3 separate regions of the Homo sapiens genome follow, and regions 1 and 2 are each linked to region 3. The links are contacts of gene promoters, found by promoter capture Hi-C in blood cells and fetal thymus (Javierre and others, 2016). All regions are on one chromosome and are shown on one strand. The core of a region is centred on a gene start or on the middle of the fragment in contact, and the rest is flanking DNA. Distances in the headings are between cores, read along the strand shown. Region 1 holds the start of LINC02656 (long intergenic non-protein coding RNA 2656). Region 2 has its middle 29 kb from the start of LINC02656. Region 3 holds the start of RBM17 (RNA binding motif protein 17).

What was found. The method cuts DNA at HindIII sites, captures the fragments that hold promoters and counts their contacts. A CHiCAGO score of 5 or more calls a contact.
Region 1: a contact is called between the fragment with the promoter of LINC02656 here and the fragment with the promoter of RBM17 in region 3, in 1 of 17 cell types (neutrophils). The highest score is 5.6, in neutrophils.
Region 2: a fragment that was not itself captured here is called in contact with the fragment with the promoter of RBM17 in region 3 in 1 of 17 cell types (activated CD4 T cells); the score reaches 6.9 in activated CD4 T cells.

What each region holds. Positions count from the first base shown.
Region 1 is chr10:6,347,176-6,351,626 of GRCh38, forward strand. LINC02656 (long intergenic non-protein coding RNA 2656) reads left to right here and starts at 3,141. Exons shown (of 1, transcript NR_148966.1): 1 at 3,141-4,451. RefSeq lists a cis regulatory region at 835-1,335. The HindIII fragment of the contact is 13,073 bases long and covers 1-4,451 here.
Region 2 is chr10:6,377,463-6,381,890 of GRCh38, forward strand. No RefSeq gene overlaps it. Among named protein-coding and RNA genes, the nearest start is that of LINC02656, 29 kb to the left of the region's middle. The HindIII fragment of the contact is 6,566 bases long and covers 1-4,428 here.
Region 3 is chr10:6,087,446-6,092,157 of GRCh38, forward strand. RBM17 (RNA binding motif protein 17) reads left to right here and starts at 1,589. Exons shown (of 12, transcript NM_032905.5): 1 at 1,589-1,748. RefSeq lists enhancers at 1,241-1,290, 2,247-3,085 and silencers at 1,451-1,890, 1,901-1,990, 2,261-2,320. The HindIII fragment of the contact is 5,297 bases long and covers 797-4,712 here.

The DNA.
Region 1 (4,451 bases), core at 1,891-4,390, 260 kb after region 3:
TCAGCCTTCCAAGTAGCTGGGACTACAGGCATGCAACACCATGCCCAGCTAATTTTTAAAATTTTGTTGTAGAGACAGGATATTGCTATACTGCCCAGTCTTGTTTCCAACTCCTGGCCTCAAGTGATCCTCCCCCGTCAGCCTCCCAAGGCATAAGTTACTGGTGTGAGCCGCTGCGCTGGCCTATATTATATGTTTTTGCTGCTTCTGTTGGGGAAGAATTTGGTGTTTTATCTGAGAGAGATGACAGGAACCTTGGCCAGATGCCACCCCCAGAAACTCAGTGTCCTTCTGTTGGTAGCTGCTTGCCTCTTTGCTGCCCCTATCAGAGCAGAGTTGTTCATTTGCTTCTCTGAGCACATCTTGTGTGGAGTCTCGGGCCCCAGACAGCAGGGCTGCAAATGACACACTCAGCTGCAAGGCAGCAGTGATCTGTGGACGAGATTCAAATCCAGAGAAAAAAACGGAAGCCTCGAACTGCATCTGAAAACCAGCGAGAAAGAAGCAAATTCCTGTGAAATGGCACAGGCATCATTTCAGCGTTGACTCATTCTGCTCAAACCTGTCACCGCTCACACGGGAGTGGTCGTTGGAATAAGGGACTTCTCCTCAGGTGAATGACAAAGAAACACAGATTTGGATTTGCCCAGGTGTCTGGAGAGGAGGCTGCCCCTGGATGCCGTGCCCCACTGTGCAGAAAGGGGATGCCCGGGGCATTGTCACCGCAGCGAGTCTGCACCTACCATCCTCTGGCCCCTTTCTGCCACCTCTGCAGCATCTCCAATTAAATTTTAAAAAAGTAAAAGTGGGGACAAGAATCATCTGCCTGCCTGTGTTTGGCCCTCCTTCCAAGTTTTTGTGTTCTGTTTGAAATCAAACTTATGCTTTCTTCCAAAATGAATGACAGAGAAAAAAGAAAAAGCCACCCAGGCTTGAAAAGTGGTAGCTTCTTGCCGCCGACTTCCTGCCGGTGCCAAGTCAGAGGGAGCTCTGCGTGTCCTCAGTTCACCCTCGCCAGGCCACACCGCATGCAAATAAGAAGCTGTTTCAGTGTGTGCCCATCTGAGACGCTGACATAAAAAAGGAAGAAAGAAAGGAAAAAAACCACCGTCACCACCAACAAAAAAACCCAAAACTGATTAATTCTCGTAGATTGCAGCAGAGCAGGGGGCCTGGTGGTGACACATCCTGTTTTGCTGTTCAAGTTGTCATCCCCCAAGCCAATAAGCTCCCTCATGAACGGCACCAGTTATGAAGGGTGACAAAGAATTCAAAACACTCACAGGACAATTTTCCTAACCCTTGGTCTCTCGGAATGCTATTTTTTAGGCTAATTTGTTTTGATGAGAAAACTATGCCTGCTAGGCCTATTTTTAAGCCAGATTTGAAGTCAACGCAGTTGGTATTTGATCTTGCAAGAACGACAGAGGTGTCAGCAGCAGCTCTGCCATTTAAGAGCTGTAGCCTGGTGGGACACCGTCCTGCAACCAGGGCCCTAGCACAAGAAGTATCTCTGTTGTTATTTGCTTCTCTTCTTTGAGATCCATACTTGATTTGAAAAATCACCACTTGAGCGGCACCTGGTGATTACGTAACCATTCAACTCTGTGTTTTATCCTAGGGCTAGGTAAGAAATTGAAAATCCAGCCTGAAATAATTAGTTTAGCTGCAGACAGGGTGTATTAAACAGACTCAATTTAATAGAGCTAGAACCATAAGATGAATGTATTTATCTTCAATCAAAGATGACATGTTGGACAGATTCCTTCATTCATCACTTTTCTGTTATGTTTAGCCCTAAGGGAAGTCTTTTTTAGATACGTAAGATGCACCTTCAGGGTTAAAGCATCTAGTCCAGTCTGAATAAAACATCAAAAGCACCTACAATCCCAAGCTCCTTCAAGAACTTTGCAGGCAGTCTTCGGGTGAGTTTGGTAAGACTATTAATCGGAGTAATGAAATAAAGTATTATCACATCTATTTATTTTTCTCATTTTCTTTTAACTTCTCTTTTGTGTATGTTCTAAAATACACATAATTTTCAGTTCATAGGGCATTTTCCCCTTGTAAGTAAATATGAATATATTTCAGAGTGAGCTCAAAGTTTTACGTTAGATTTAGGTAGGCATTTTTTTTTTTTTTTTTTAAGATGGAGTTTCACTCTGTCACCCAGGCTGGAGTGCGGTGGCTCGATCTTGGCTCACTGCAACCTCCGCCTCCTGGGTTCAAGCGATTCTCCTGCCTCAGCCTCCTGAGTAGCTGGGATTACGGGCACCCACCACCACACCCGGCTTATTTTTGAATTTTTAGTAGAGCTAGGGTTTCACCATGTTGGCCAGGCTGGTCTAGAGCCCCTGACCTCAGGTGATCCACCCACCTCGGCTTCCCAAAGTGCTGGGATTACAGGCGTGAGCCGACAAGGTAGGCAAAAGTTAAAAACAAAAAAACAAAAAAACAAAAAAAAATTTGGAATAGTCTGTAACAGAGGAGGGCTTGAAGAGAAGTGAGGTGATTTGCAGAAGCATCAGCCAGGAGGCATTCCTCCAGGAGAAAAATTTTTACTTAAAGGAGAGAGCTTAGTGATGGAGAAGGAAAAGATCTCGACAGACATTCAAGATTAGAATCATAAGTTGGCCATTGATTGGGTGTGGCTCTGGGAAGTGGAGGTGCTGTGGGCAGGGGCTGGCTTGGGCAATGAGAAAATGGTGTTGCTTATGTGCCCACTCTGTGCTGGGACTCAGCTGTGAGTGCCTCCAAATTCACCACATTTATCAAACCTCAGTGCTCTGAGACAGCATATGATGGCCTAGCAGGATGTCCATTCTTTTCCTGGAACCACCCATCCAGTTATCTCCTTGAGTCGCCTGGGTGGTGAAAAGTGGTCTCATGCACAATGGATGCGGTGTGATCCCCTTGCTATGTCACGCATGGCGTCTGCCCTCTTCCCTGGCACCTGTGCCACTCCAGGTTATGCCTGTGCTGCTGCCCATTCTACGCCCACCTGGAAAGCCTGAAACCTTCTCGTGCCTTCTACTGCAGCTGGGGAGCTTCTTCCACGTCTCATAGCCAGCTTCTCCAGAGGGAACTCCCAGAGCTGACTGTACTTTCCTACCTCAGCCTCTTCTTCCTGGGATGGTGTCAAAATATGAACAGATACAGCTTCATGCTTTCAGGAAACCACCTTCTCTTCCATCTTCTCCTTTGGCCTGCTCAGACAGCCAGACTTCTTAAACATATTTTTCCTACAGGCTCATGCAAATTAAGGGATGTGGCTGAGCATCTCCTTCAGTGCCCTCAAACAGGTCATGAATGTTGCAAAGCCCAGAATCGTGCTAACCTGGTAGAAGGCTGGTTTAGCCAGAACACACAGAGAGGACCTTCTCATGATGGTGTGGCTGAATTCCACATGTCACTAACAGTATCTTGCCCTGACCCGACTCCAAGTACTGATCCCCAAGGAAGGCATAATAGAGAGCCCATCTTGGGGAGGGATGATGACTTCATGTGCAAACAAGTCAAATTCAGGATGTGTGTTGTGGGCAGAGATGGCAATGCCCAGTCATCTGTTAGGTATACAGGTCCGCTGTACAGGAGAAAAATCAGAACAGAATTTCTATTTGTAGTGTTTCTTTTAGAGACTAGGGAATTGAAACCACAGGTGAATAAGAATGTACAAGGAACCAGGCCTTCTTGAAGAAATAGCTGAACCAGATTGGTGTCAGGAGCTGTACAAGGGGATCCAAGAATGTCTTGTCATACAAGCCGGACAGCTATTAAAGACAACTGAGGTCATGGCAAAAGGGCCCAGGCTTCTACTGGCCAACAATGAGACAATTTGAGCATCCCAAAGAATAATGACTTTAGTGGACTGAAACACATCAACATGTATACATCCATGAATTCATAATACTCAAAACGGTAAAACCAAACTCATTTGTTACCTTTGGAGGAGTCTGTCACCTCTGATTATTCTGAAAACTGGTAAATAGAAGGGGAAAATTCAAGCATTTATTCTGCTTTTCTTGTATAAACTGTACCTCACAGTTACGGAAGAGCTGATAAGGGAAATGTCTTCTTTATTGAAAAATTCAGCTGATACATTTGGAAGGAATGAGAGAATTACAGTACCACCATTAGGTGACAATGAGGGTCTGGTTTTTTATTTTTCTTTTGCTGAGTGCTGGGAACATAGTGATAACAAAAAAAGCCATAGTGTTCTGGCCCTTCTGGAGTTTTGATTCTAGCACATTAACCAAATAATCCCAGAGCAAAAATAAAATGTCAACTATGGTAAGTGTAGAGAAGGGAAAATACACAGAACTTTTAACAGCTTAGATCCGAGGAAGCTGACCAGCCTGCAAAAAGGGACAGCTTCCCTAGGGAAGTGACTTTGCAGCTGTGATGATGGATGACTAAGAGTTAACCAAGGAATGGGAGGAGGGAGGAGGAGA
Region 2 (4,428 bases), core at 337-2,836, 290 kb after region 3:
TTAATACATTCATATAATTTGTAAAGATCAAATCAGTGTACTTGAGATATCCATCACCTTAGATATTTGTCTTTTATGTTAGAAACATTTGAATTCTTCTCTTCTATTTTGAAACACACAACAGATTATTGTAAACTGTGTCACCCTACCGACCTATCTAACACTAGGTCTCGTTTCTCTTAACAAACTGTATATTTGTACCCATTAATCATCTTTTCTTCACCCGCTTTTCCCCCTACCCTTCCTTAGCTGGGTAACCACCAATCTACTTTGTATCTTCATGAGATCTCCTTTATAGCTCTCACTTATGAATGAAAACATGCAGTATTTGAAGAGTCACGTTAGAAGAGGTTTAGAGGCTGTGTAGGAGTTCTCCAGGAGAAGGTGGAGGATGGAAGAAGGGAATTACAGTAGGCAGAGAAAACCTGAGTGAGAAAGTAAAAGCCTGGGTCAGGAGGACAATGAATGGCCCAGGAGGGTAGGCCCCGTGCTGGGGCTGGTGGGAGATGTGTGCGGAAACTGCAGGGCTTTGCCTGCCAGGCTAAGGAGTTTTCCTTTCATCTGGAAGATGATGGGAGAACTATCAAAGGGGTCAGAGAAAGGATGCTGACAGTCTCCTCTGCCCCACTGAGTTAAGCAGCCTAGTTTGTTCTGCTCATGCTGATAGCCAGCTTGCTCCCCCTCTCGCAGCTCCTCTCCCACTGCTGCCCCCATCCATCTACTGAAGACCTCGGGTATTAGTCCATTCTCACACTGCCATAAAGATACTACCTGAGACTTGGTAATTTATAAACAAAAGAGGTTTAATTGACTCACAGTTCTATATAGCTAGGGAGGCCTTAGGAAACTTACAATCACGGCCGAAGGTGAAGGGGAAGCAAGGCATGTCTTACATGGTGGCGGGAGAGAGAGAGAGAGTGAAGGGGGAACTGCCACTTTTAAACTATCAGCTCTTATGAAAACTGACTCACTATTACTAGAACAGCATGGGGGAAACCATCCCCATGATCCAATCTCCTCCTACCATGTCTCTCCCTCAATACCAGGGGATTAAAATTCGAGATAAGATTTGGGTGGAACAAAGAGCCAAACCATATCACCTTGCTAGTCTTTAGATACCAATTGGGCTTCCCCAGGCAGCTCAGCAACTGTAGTGCTTTCCTCCTCTGAATCCATAGAGGTTTTTTTAAATTTTTTTTTATTTTATTTTTTTAATTTGAAACTTCTATGGCTTTACTTATGTTATTCTTTCTGGGTTTTTTTTTGTTCCTCTTTTGCTGCCTGGTAGAAGGCTACTCAACTTGAAATGTGCCACCAAGATGCCATCTCTTATGTAAAGCCTTATCCCACCACCTAAAAGCAGAAAAATGTGCTCTCTGCTACAGCAATTCAATCACTCTAATGTTACAGACAGATGTGTGCTGGTAAAAAACCACCATCTCAAAAAAGAAATGAAGAAAAAGCCAACAAAACCCAACCCAAACCAACACCACCAAAATCCTGATTTGTGGTGTTTGCCAATTTCTGTAGTATAAATACTCCCACCATGGCTGCTTTCAAGCTACCAACTTGAGATTTCTGAACTTGCAGCTGGGAAGAGATATGTAATGTCAGTTCTCAAGAGTTGATTCAGGCCAGGCATGGTGCTACACACCTGTATTTCCAGCTACTTGGGAGGCTGAGGTGGGAGAATCACTTGAGCCTGAGAGTAAGCCATGATTGCACAACTGCATTCCATCCTGGGGAAAAAAAAGAGTTGGTACAAGCTGGCTCTAGCACATCACTGGACTTTATAGACCTGGCCTCACTGTGGTTCATTGTTCACATAGACTACAAGTATTTAGGAGAGAGAGACAGTGGGCCTGTCTTATTCATCTTTGTTGACTAGTGCATGTTCCAGTCTGGCATACAGCAAACACTCAATGTATATTTCTTCCCCAGGTATTTATTATTTGAATGAGTGGGTGGTTACCATGTGTATTAGTCCATTTTCATGCTGCTTATAAAGACGTACCTGTGACTGGGAAGAAAAAGGTTCAATGGACTTATAGTTCCACATGGCTGGGGAGTCCTCACAATCATGGCAGAAGGCAAGGAGGAGCAAGTCACATCTTACAAGGATGGCAGCAGGCAAAGAGAGAGAGCTTGTGCAGGGAAACTCCTCTTTATAAAACTATCAGATCTCATGAGACTTATTCACTATCATGAGAACAGCACAAGAAAGATCTGCCCCTGTGACTCAATTATCTCCCACCAGGCCCCTCTCACAACATGTGAGAATTCAAGATGAGATTTGGGTGGGGACACAGCCAAACCATATCATTCTGCCACTGGCCCCCTGCAAATTTCATGTCCTCACATTTCAAAACCAATCTTGCCTTCCCAGCAGTCCCCCAAAGCCTTAACTCATGTCAGCATTAACTCAAAAGTCCACAGTTGAAAATTTCATCTGAGACAAGGCAAGTCCTTCTGCATATGAGCCTGTAAAATCAAAAGCAAGTTAGTAACTTCCTAGATACAAAGGAGGTACAGGCATTGGGTAAATACAGCCATTCAAAATGGGAGAAATTGGCCTAAACAAAGGGGCTACAGGCCCCATGCAAGTCTGAAACCCAGCGGGGTAGTCAATTCTTAAAACTCTAAAATGATCTCCTTTGACTCCATGTCTCACATCCAGGTCATGTTGATGCAAAAGGTGGGCTTCCATGGTCTTAGGCAGCTCCATCTCCATAGCTTTGCAGAGTACAGCCTCCCTCCTGGCTGCTTTCATGTGCTGGTGTTGAGTGTCTGTGGCTTTTCAAGGCACATGGTGCAAGCTGTTGGTGGATCTACCATTCTGGGGTCTGGAGGACAGTGGCCTTCTCACAGCTCCACTAGGCAGTGCCCCAGTAGGGACTCTGTGTGGAGACTCTGACCCCACATTTCCCTTCTGCACTGCCCTAGCAGAGGTTTTCAATGAGGGCCCCACCCCTGCAGCAAACTTCTGCTTGGGCATCCAGGCATTTCCATACATCCTCTGAAATCTAGGTAGAGTCGACTTAATTCTTGACTTCTGTGCACCTGCAGGCTCAACACCACGTGGAAGCTGCCAAGGCTTGGGGCTTCCACCCTCTGAAACAACAGCCTGAGCTGTACCTTGGCCCCTTTTAGTTATGGGTGGAGTGGCTGGGACTCAGGGCACCAAGTTCCTAGACTGCGCACAGCAGAGAGACCCTGGGCCTAGCCCACGAAACCATTTTTTCCTCCTAAACCTCCAGGCCTGTGATGGGAGGGGCTGCCGCAAAGGTCTCTGACATGCCCTGGAGACATTTTCCCCATTGTCCTGGTGATTAACATTCAGATCTTCATTACTAATGCAAATTTCTGCAGCCAGCTTTAATTTCTCCTCAGAGAATGGGATTTTTGTTTCTATCACATTGTCAGCCTGAAAATTTTACAAACTTTAATGATCTGTTTCCCTTTTAAAATTGAATGCCTTTAACAGCATCCAAGTCACCTCTTGAATGCTTTGCTGCCTAGAAATAGAAATCTTCCACCAGATACCCTAAATCATCTCTCTCAAGTTCAAAGTTCCACAAATCTCTAGGGCTGGGGCAAAATGCTGTCAGTCTCTTTGCTAAAACGTAACAAGAGTTACCTTTGTTCCAATTCCCAACAAGTTCCTCATCTCCATCTGAGACCACCTCAGCCTGGATTTCACTGTCCATATCATTATCAGCATTTTGGTAAAAGCCATTCAGCAAGTCTCTAGGAAGTTCCAAACTGTCCCACATTTTTCTGTCTTCCTCTGAGTCCTCCAAACTGTTCCAACCTCTGCCTGTTACCCAGTTCCACATTTTTGTGTATCTTTTCAGCAGTGCCCCACTCTACTGGTACCAATTTACTGCATTAGTCTGTTTTCATGCTACTGATAAAGCCATATCTGAGACTGGGGAAAAAAAAGAGGTTTAATGGACTTATAGTTCCACATGGCTGGAGAGGCCTCACAATCGTGGCAGAAGGCAAGGAGGAGCAAGTCACATCTTACATGGATGGTGGCAGGCAAACAGAGAGAGATTGTGCAGGAACATGCCTCTTTATAAAACCATCAGATCTCATGAGACTAATTCACCATCACAAGAACAGCACGGGAAAGACCCGCCCCCATAACTCAGTTACCTCCCACCAGGTCCCTCCCACAACACGTGGGAATTCAAGATGAGATTTGGGTGGGGACACAGCCAAACCATATCACCATGTCTCTCCATGGACTGACTTGATGGACAATTCTTTGGAGGTGGATAACTGTGATTGTCCTGTAAACCATAAAGCAGAGAGGGCACCCCAAGGAAAGCCATGTTACCCAAGTAGATGCTGGACAAGTGTTAAATACATAGCTGCCTTCATTGTGGAAACAGGGGCAGGGATCTGAGGACTTCTATATCAAGA
Region 3 (4,712 bases), core at 339-2,838:
ATTAATTTCTACTTTTATTGAATTGCTGCAGATAATATTACCGATATGATTCTACTTATTGGACTATGTTAAGATTTTTCTCTGTGGTTTAAAATATGACTAATTGTTGTGAATATTCCTTAGACACTGGAAAAGATGTAATGTCTATTTAGGGGACAGTGTTTGATATATTAGATCTATCATAGGAATTGTATTTTTAGGTCTTCTCAATCCCCATTTACTTTTTGTACTCTTCGTCTGGCAAGGAGTGTGCCAATTATTTCTGTCTATTCACTCACTCCTACAGTGTTTGCTATGAATAATGAGATTATGTGATTTGGTGCAAAGATTTTCCTATTTTTCCTATTTTTTTCTTGATTGTGAATTGTGCTCCTCAAGATTATAAAATGTCCTTCTTAATCTTACTTAATGCTTTTTGCCCTGAAATCAACTTTGTAGTAAGCGGTTTGTGATTCCTGATTTTTTTAATTTTTTTGCATATTCCTGGTATATCTTTTCCAATCTTGTATTTTCAAACTCAGAATAACGTTAGCACTTTCTTGTATACAACACTGAGTTGCATGATGGTTTGTGCTCCTATCTGAGATTGTAGTTTTTTAGTAGGTAAGCTTAGGTCTATATTTCTTCTTGTGAGACATTTGGTCTTGTTCTGTCATATAGTTTGGTTACGCTTTCTGTTTTGTAACTTTTTAAAATATTTCCCTATATATATATTTTTTTTGCTGTGGTTTTGTGTGTGTGTGTGTGTGTGTGCATGCATGTATGTGTGGGTGCATGTATGTGTGGATTATTTGAAAGCTTTGTAGTTTTGTTCTGGGTTACCCTCAGAATCATACCATCCCATGACGTCCTTAATCCTCTATTTCTTTAGATTGTCTTTTGTCTCTCCACTGTATTTCTTTTTTCCCCCTTTTCCCGTTTTCTTAATGACTGGATTTTAATGGATTATAGTAACTTTCTTGGTATACTCCTTCGGACTAAGACGTCTGCTTAAATCTCTACTATTTGATTTATCGGCTTGAACTCTATTTGACACCCAATTAATTACAGATGTAAAAATCATATTTACCCGAAGTCCCACTTTCCCTTTCCCTCCCTGCTTCTGTCAGCGACGTCGTTTTTAAAGACCGAGGCTTTATAGCATTGACATTCTTTTCTGTACCCCTAATCGCGGCATCTGTTTCCATAATCTTACGCTTAACCTCGTGCTCCTTGCCATCCTTTTGCAGCATCTGGCCTATGCAGACTTATTTTCAACTTTTTGCTTATATAGGAGTGGCTTTGAATGAATGAGATCGAGGGGCCTGGAGGGACTTCCCCCACCTCCCCTATCAGAAAGCCCGGCCTCGGACCACTTCTCCTCCTCACCATCTGGGGGCGCTGCCGCGCTCCCCAAGCCTTGTGGAATTTCGAAAATGTGCGCCAGGGCGACACCTCTTGATGGTAAGAAGACGCCGGCGGAGGGGAGCGTGCAGTGCGGTCCTCCCGCGGGCAGGGGGCAGTGCGGCAAGGCGCCCTCGGCGCAGGCGCAGAGGCCGAAGCAGGCGCAGGCGCAGGCGGGGCGCAGGCGCGGGCGCGCTCTCCCGGCAGCCCGCGCTCCCTGACCCCGCGCCGCCGAGCGCCCTGAGGACTCAGCGAAGGGTGGGCGCCGCCGAGGCCTCCTGCCGCTGGCGGGTTTCCGCGGAGTGCCGCCCGGCTCCGCTCTGCCGCCGGCGCGGCTCATGGGCAGAGTCGGCCGGGCGGGCCGGGTAAGTGGCGCCCCGGCGGCCCCGGGTGGGTGGCCTGGCGGGACCTGAGGCGGGCGCGCCTTCCCGGGAGGCGCTAGACGCAAGCCCGCGGCTTTAGGCCCGTCGCGAGGGGCGGAGGCCGGGCCAGCGCAGCCGGAGCCTCCGAGGGTCTCAGTCCCCGCGGCGGGCGCTGGTCTCTCCACGCGGCTGCGGCCCGGTACCCTCCGCCCGCCGCCGCCTCTGGTGACCCTGGCCCTGACCTTCTCCCTCTTCCCTTCCTCCTCCTCCTCCTCATGTCTGCCTCGGGCTGTTTGGTGCTGAAGAGCGTTTCTTCTCCGTCTCGTGCACCGCATCCTGACGAAATTGTCTGGTCACCAGAACCGAGTAGCCCGTAGCGTGTCCCCCCTGGCCCTGCACGGTTGCCCCTCTCTGGGGCTCGGAGCCGGTTCCTCCCGGGGTCTCAGAACTGGGAGTGCAGACGTTGGCGTTTCTCAGACTCCGGAGCTGCCCGGGACAGGAATGCAGCCCTAACCCCGGCGTCGCCTCGGCTCGTGCAGTTTGAGCGGTGTTTCAGCGCTCACGTCCGACCCCAGGCAGTCTTTGAGCTTCGCCTCTTGCCCCGAGAATGTGTAATGATCGGAGAATGCAGGTGGAATGAGGTTCTGCCCCTGCTTGCAGGAGTTTGGTTTCTGGGAAAGCAGGCGTGAAAACCCAGGCCCGGGTTGATTTGAGAAACGCAAGTGGGGTCTGGAAGGACCTCTCTTGAGAGAGGAGGTCATGCTTATGTTGAGTCTTGAAGGTACGTTGTTAGATGTGAGAGGTGGGAAAAAGGCTGCCGGCGGAGGAAGTAAGTGCGAAAGTAGCAGAAGCGAAGCCCCGTAGTGCGTTCTGGAAGCTGCAGGTTAGGCAGAAAGAAAGGTTTGAGGAGGGGCTGCTGTGTTTCCAGGAGTAGTCAGGTCAGAACATGGAGGTTTCTTGAGAAGCAGTAAAGAAGCGCCATTGAGGGTCCTTATTTTGCTAGAGCCAGGCATATGGATGGGAAATAGGATATTCTAGATAAGGGCAAGATTCGCATATACTCAAATAGATGGGTAGATGTGCACTGGCTCCCCGCAGCAGATGGAGTTTTTAAAAGGATGCAACACAAGTTTCCACATTTTTAGTTGTAAAGGCTGCAGACATTTTGATCGTAATGACAGCTTTTAGGGAATATGGGGTAACAGTTTAGTGAGCTAAACGAGAGGGCTTTATTTTTAGAGTTAGTTAAGCAAGGTGCTGCGTGCTGTCCAGTTTATAACAGAGCAGGTTGTGCGGTTGTGGAGCTCTGCGGAACCAAAGGCAGCCTTTCTGGAGGCTCTTGAGAGAATTGTTGTACACTTCCAAATGCAGCTTTATTTAAAGTGGATTTCTTTTTACCTGGTTTGTTTTAACTTACCTTCCCATTCTCCCCTGCCTATGAATTTTTCAGACCTCCTCCCAGCAGGGAACAGATGATCCCAGGCTAGTCATCTCTCAAACCTTTCATAATAGTCAATAGTGAAGGAAGTTCTGTTATTCGCCTAAATTACAGGTGACTGTAGTGGACTGTGTTTGCAATACTAGCCTATGGCATTTTGGTAACAGCCAGAGGGTGGGATTGAATGGAAAGATTAAACTGACAAGGGCGTCAGATGGAGGTATGGGAAAAATTTTTTTTTAATTCTTTAGAAAGTCATGGTAGATCTTATACTTGAGGTAGATGCTTTTTAAGCTGTATTTTTTGCGGACACCAAAGTGCACCACCCCTCCTGTTCCTTTCTGGGTATATTTGCCATATATATGTATATAAATATATAAATATTTATATATTTATATATATTTATATATTTTTATATATATATTTATATACATATATTTTTTTCTCCTGAGACAGAGTCTCACTCTATAGTCCAGGCTGGAGTGCAGCGGTGTAAGTCGGCTCACTGCAACCTCCACTTCCCAGGTTCAAATGGTTCTCTGGCCTCAACCTCCTGAGTAGCTGGAATTACAGGCGCTCGCAACCATGCTCGGCCAATTTTTGTATTTTCAGTAGGGACGGGGTTTCACCATGTTGGCCAGGCTGGTCTCGAACTCCTGATCTCAAGTGATCCTCCTGCCTCGGCCTCCCAAAGTGCTGGGATTACAGGCGTGAGCCACTGGGCCCGGTCTTGCCATATTCTTTAGGCTTCAAAGAGGCATGCTTTGTTTTATGATGCATGAATATCTGTTTAGTGATAGAAATATTTCTTGCTAACAAGCCTGCCTCTTTAGGTGCTCAGAACTCAGACCTTGACTCGTTATTGGTTGTGTGGTGGTGGTAGTTTTTTTCTCCTTAATTATGGTTTGCAATTTAAATTTTATCCTACTTATCATAAGTTATGTGCTTAAAAAGCAGATCTGCAGATCTCACTGTTTCATAATAATGTGATTTAAATAGGTGCACTAACATTTTTCATCCATTCACTAACACATTTAAAAAATATTAATAGAGCCACTTAACAATGTTCAAGCATGGTGCTGAGCTAGAGATACAAAGCTGAACATAAGAAACACCCCTGCCTTTAGGGGGCTTACACTGCAGGAAGAAACCGCTGTGTGAAACAATAGGCAGCATAACTTGCCAAGGTTGCTGTGATCTGAGTATGCTTGAGGAAACCAGTTGGGGGGGGTTAGTTTTATGTGGGGGCAATAGTCACTAAAGGCTTCTGAGATGCACTTGAAAGATAAGTAGGTGGGGTGCTTCTGAGAAGACTCTTCCATGTTCTTTTTCCTGCCAGTTGCACATGTTTTAAAAAAATACTTTCCAGCTTGGGTGGAATCTTGAAAACTCACCATTCTTCCTTCTGGCAGAACCATGTTTGTTATGTTTCCTAAGAAAAAATGTAGCATATATGAAACGTGGGTTGCTCAAAGGGAAGTGTTGCCACAAAAAGGAAGGAAATAGCAAATATTTTAAAGTTATAAAAA